Linked DNA regions of Homo sapiens: region 2 is linked to region 1. The links are contacts of gene promoters, found by promoter capture Hi-C in blood cells and fetal thymus (Javierre and others, 2016). All regions are on one chromosome and are shown on one strand. Each heading gives the region's core, a stretch centred on a gene start or on the middle of the fragment in contact. The rest is flanking DNA. Distances are from core to core; before and after follow the strand shown. Region 1 overlaps SLAMF1 (signaling lymphocytic activation molecule family member 1). Region 2 holds the start of NHLH1 (nescient helix-loop-helix 1).

Evidence for each region. The method cuts DNA at HindIII sites, captures the fragments that hold promoters and counts their contacts. A CHiCAGO score of 5 or more calls a contact.
Region 2: the fragment with the promoter of NHLH1 here is called in contact with a fragment that was not itself captured in region 1 in 3 of 17 cell types (naive B cells, total B cells and megakaryocytes); the score reaches 8.0 in naive B cells.

What each region holds. Positions count from the first base shown.
Region 1 is chr1:160,622,965-160,625,664 of GRCh38, forward strand. SLAMF1 (signaling lymphocytic activation molecule family member 1) reads right to left here. Exons shown (of 7, transcript NM_003037.5): 4 at 1,132-1,221. Among named protein-coding and RNA genes, the nearest start is that of SLAMF1, 23 kb to the right of the region's middle. RefSeq lists an enhancer at 1,781-1,910. The HindIII fragment of the contact is 4,206 bases long and covers 1-2,700 here.
Region 2 is chr1:160,365,746-160,368,445 of GRCh38, forward strand. It overlaps NHLH1 (nescient helix-loop-helix 1), which reads left to right and starts at 1,326. Exons shown (of 2, transcript NM_005598.4): 1 at 1,326-1,592. The HindIII fragment of the contact is 14,453 bases long and covers 1-2,700 here.

The DNA.
Region 1 (2,700 bases), core at 108-2,607:
GCAGTTTTGTGTGTTGCTAACTTACAAGGGACAAATGGTGAATGGGGTTGAGGTGAGGATGGGTATGTGTGTTGGGGAAGGTAGTGGGGAATTGTGGGATGGGGAGCACTATTCCCTTAGAGCACAACCATGTGATAAGCCAAGTGTGGTTGAGGAAAGAGTATGGCGTAGGATCCCAGCAATTTTACTAGGTAGGTTAATGTGGATAAGTTAAGTTCAGTTTTCTCATCCTGGGTCATCTCACTATTTCCTTATAGTATGAGCTAAATGTGATTGCCCTACCCCGAGCCCCATAGGCTGTCAACCTAATTTCTATCTGAATCACCCATCCCTCCTACCTGGCTAACTCTTAGATGGAGGAAATGAGACACAAGTAGGTCGCTGTGCTATGATCTAGATTTTTTTATATATGCAAAACCAACATCAGAGTGCTGAGGTAAGGGCTTTTCTAAGAAGGTTGTGTGTAGATGACACTGATCTACTTGAGAATGAAATCAGTCATCAGCTCAGTGTTATGAGGATCAAGTTCTATCCTTACCATGGGAAGGCAGCCGGGGCATCTCTCCTGGTCTTGGGTCAGGACATTTTGACTCCAGTATTGGTTGGTAGTAGTCAAGGTGGCTGAGGGGAGCACAATGCCCTGAGATATTGTATCATAGGGAAATTTGGAAGAGAGGACAGGGGATGGTACCTCTAGGCACTTCAACTGCAGGGGAATAATTGTGCCTTATTGGTTTCATTCTAACCCTGGTGACTTTTTGGATGAGATCCAATAATTTTCTGAATTCTGTTCCCAGTGAATACTCTTAAACCTCTTGTTCACTTCTTCAGCATCCTGTGTTTACCCTGATGGCAGTGCTAGTCACACTAAACTGAAATTATCTGAATAATGTCTCTCACATTAGAAACCTGTGGCTCTTCTATTTCTTTCCACAGCCTAGTAGAGGGGATCAAGACATGTTGAATTAGACTGAATTAAGCAAGGTCCCAGGATATGTTTATCTACTATTTTTGCAAAGGTGGCCCCATGCAGAAAGCCAGAGTTGTGAGAGCAAGTCCGAGCCTGTGGAGAGAGGTCCCCTGCTTACCACAGAGAGTGTGATAAGAATCTATTTATTGCCAGACACCTACCTCTTCTTCTCAACTGTAGTATTACCACCATGATGAGAATCATGATGACACCCCCTAACAGCCCAGCATACACTGCCCATGGTTTTGTTTCTGGAAAAAAAAAGAAGTCAAAGAGCAATCTCAAAAGTATTCTGAGCTTAAAAACATCTTACATGAAAGTGGGATAATGGAGCCTCATGTTCTATTTCTGCATTCTCTCCCAAGGGAGACGTTTGTTTTCATGGTTTTAGAGGTCAGCTTTAGACCACTGAAAATTTTTGTATCTGTTTTCTTATTCTAATTTCTCTCACTATACTTTCACATTCTTAATTTCATGAAGATTTTTCTATCCAAATGCTTTATTTTTAACTCAACTACCACATGTCTAACATTAAATTATCTTCATCTCTCCTAAGTCAATCTCTCTGCCCAGTTTCTCCATCTTAAGATTGCTAATGTGTCCTGTATCCATTTTGGGTAAAGAGAATATAATGGTTCCATGTGCCGTCCCTGTGAATTCACGCTATTCTCATGAGACACTGGGAGGAAGAAAGATCTACTTATCTTTTTTAAAAATAAACATAATAGTGCTATTGTTGTCCTTTCATGCAAATAACTGGGTTGAACCCAGCAGACCTGAACTGAAAGGAAAGTATTTAGTCTTTCCTCTAAATCATCTTCATGTTTAAAATTAGCCCGAGAACTAATCATCAAGGCTCAAAATCAGAGAGAAAACTTTTATTGTTTTCTCTCCTTTACCCACTTTATCAAATCCTTTTGAACTAGGAGCAACACTTTGACAAACAGTGAATGAGAATTATCACCCCCAGTAAACAAGACATGTAGCTCAATAAGATTATAATGAACAATTATTGAGCACTTGCAATGGGCCACATATTTTTAGTGCATCATGTGTACTAACATATTTAATCCTCACAATAATCTTACAAGGTAGGTACACTCATTATTCTCATTTTATGGAGAAGGAAAACAGCCTGGAGAACCTCAAGAACTAGAGCTTGGTTTAGTAGTAGAAATGTGGCTGAATACTAAAGACAGACTTCTTGGAGAGTTAGAGAGACTTATGGGCTTGGAAAAAGTTATACCGGGGTAATGAACAGTGGGGACCGAGCTGAAGCCCTAGGGTTCTAAGTAGAATATTCGCACTAAGGTTCTAAATAGAGTAACACCAGATGTTAACATTAATGTGTAAGGGAAACTTATAAGGATGATTGTGGAATAAGCCTGCTTGTTGTTGAACCTGTGAGGAATTTGTGGGGCAGAAATTGAAAGAAAAATAGTCGGGTTCCAAAGGAAAGAATCATGGTGGACACAATCAGATGTTTACAGAGTTGACCAAAGATACAGACAGTCTCAATGAATTCATAAAATGCAGCCTACAAGATCCAAAGGGGCCTCCAGCCTGATAGCTGGCAAGAAGTTGCCTTCTGGATTTGAAAAGATTCTTTTTCTCCTTAGGCCTTTCACACATCAAGTTAGCCCAAGGAATCTCACTGAACTGACTTTGCAAACACCTTGGTTATAGGTTCTATCCCCTAAATTAAATGTTTTAATTTTGCCAGATACCAA
Region 2 (2,700 bases), core at 76-2,575, 260 kb before region 1:
CTAAGAAGCAGCTATAATCAACCCCATTTTACAGGAAAAGAGGTCCAGGCTCAAAAGGTTGTTATTTGTCCAAGGTCACACAGCTGACAGAGCCTTTTTCACTGTACCACACTACCTCTGGAGTCCTCTCCAGTCATGGTTCTTTTGAATACTCTCAAAGGTTCAGAGAAGACATCCAACAGCTGAGTGGGGAGAGAACTTCAGACACTGAAACCCTCTATGCACTGTCTCTCTATGCACTCTGGTCCCTGTGCTGCCCCTCCTCAATCCTGCCACTCGGCAACACACACATACACACACACACTCACACTTACATTCACATTCACACACACTTGCATATACATGCTGGAGGCTGCTGAGCTATTGATGGGAGCTTAATCAGTGCCCATTTGCATATAATTTTGTGTCTGGTTTTCTTATTGCTGATTTGATGCCCTCAAAACACACTCAGAGCCTGCCTAGGCTGCCCTGCCCTCCTCTCCCAGTGTCCTTCCAATCCTGGTTCTTCCTGTCTTGGCACTCCTCCACTCCTCTCCTTTTAGCCCTTACCTCTTTCTTCCTAAGAGCCCTCTAATTCCCAGTGGGTCAGGTTGGGCTGGCCAGCCTAGAAAAACTCCTTGTGGGGTCTGTGTCCCAAATTTGATCCTGCTCCTCCCCTTGGTGATGGGTTAGGTAGGAAGATAGCGGGTGGGGTAAGAGGGTATGGGGGTGATTGAGTCCCAGGGTGATGAGGGTAGGGGCCTGAACAGTTGCTACAGGCAGGCTGGCAAGCAGTGGGTACCAGCTTTATGAAGGATAAGAGCTTGAGGGCCAGGACCCTAGGGTCCTCTTCTGCATTTTAGTGCTACCCACTTGCTCTTTTCTCGGTTTCCCTGTTAGTACCTTGAAGAGTCTCCCTCTCAGGAAAAAAGAGACACCAGGAAGGGGCTGTCCAAGTCACGCTGGGACTCCGAATGGGGCCATGGCACTTAACCATAGCTTGCTGGGAGCCTCTGCCCTGCTGCCTCTGGTGTGGGAGACTGAGGGGGTTCATCTGTGGTCCTGCCCTGGCTCTCGCCCCAGCCCCACCCCTTCCCCAGCTCTCCATTTCTTGCTTATGAAATATGCATGGAGAACAGATGTCCCTGCTCCCCCGCTCCCCGCCCCCACCCAGGGCCAGCCCCCGCCCCCAGCTCCCGAGGGGTTCCCAGATCCCTCTGCCAATGGCTGCCTGGCCTGGCTGTTTAATATTGATGAGGGGGGGGTGGGCCTGGGCCAGCCAATGGAGAGCTGGGGGTGTGTGTGTGTATCTCCATATATATACATAGGGCTGGGCCAGCTCAGGTGTGTGTGTCTGAGGGTGTGTGTGTGAGTGTGGCTGGCCCCAGTACCTGGCCAAGCCCACCACTTCCACCTGGGCCCTACACCCCCACAATGTGTACCCCTCTTATCTGCCCTGGAGCCTGTACAGCCATGCCACGCTACCCCTGAGAGTCTAGAAAGCTGGTCACTAACTTTGCAGACGGATGAGCCTTGAGCACCCAGAGGAGACTGGGGCTGTCAACGCTGCCCCTTGTCCTGCCGGCTTGGATCCCCTGACAGGGTCCTTCTAGGTAAAGGGGAAACCATGGGCGGGGAGGGATGGGCGTGTCCCTCCCATTCTCTGGCTCAAGCCCCTTCCTAGAGCCTCCCTCTAGTTCTCTCCCTTGTGCGCTGTGTCTCTCCCTGTCTCCGCGTGTCCCTCTTCTCCACTCCTCCCCTTCGACTCTTTGTGCCTATCTATCCTCAGTTGGGTTAGGGCTGGCAGAAGTGGGGTGGGAAGTCCTGTCCTGCAGGCTTGGAATTGCTGCTCCCCTGATCCTTGGACCCTGGAACTTTGAGACCAGAAGTGGATTTGGGGGTGAGGACTTGATGGGTAAATAGAAGCTGCTGCCGGGACTGGAACTGGGGAGGACAATGGGGCCAGGTGGAGATGAGACTGGGGCCAGATGGGGAGCACGGAGAGGGGAAGGAAGGGCATGGCAAAGTGATGAGGGATGAAGGAACATAGGGACCGGGCAGAGAGAATTAGCCTGTGATAGATGTGATAAATGTGTTGGGAACTCCGCAGCTGAACTCCTGCTCCCAGCCCCAGCATGGGGGGTGGGGAGTTGGGGGCACTAAACATGTACTGGGAGGTGCTGACTTTGGGGCCTCCCACACTATTGCCATCCCCCCATAGTTCATTTGAACCCCAGAATATGGAATGTGTTCTCAATTTCAGCACTAACCACCTTCTGTTTCCTGTTAAGATTGTGTGTGTACTTGTCATCAGATGTGGATGACTTTGCATCCCTCCAGAGCTTCATAGCTGTTTGTTGGCTTGACTTGAACCTATCTTCTGTGTGGTGGGGTGGGGCAAGGCTTGGGAGGATCCTAACCCCTTTGAGAGTATCTATCAGACAGGAAAGCCAGGGCTGGGGAGGAAGGGGAGATAGTGATGGTGCAGGCACCTTGGTGCTTCTGTTTCTAATCATTCTTAGTTGAGCTGATGGTGAGTGGCCCACTGTTCCCCTTTAACACTGCACACAAGCAAAGCCCTTTCCCCAGCTTTTCCCAGGCCATGTTTGTGCTGCCTTGCCCTGATCTCCTCTGGTCCTAGGACAAGCAAACCTTAGCTGAGTCCCATAAGGGTAGCTCCAAAAATCTGTCTGTGTCCTCTGCAGGCCGTGTCTGAACCTT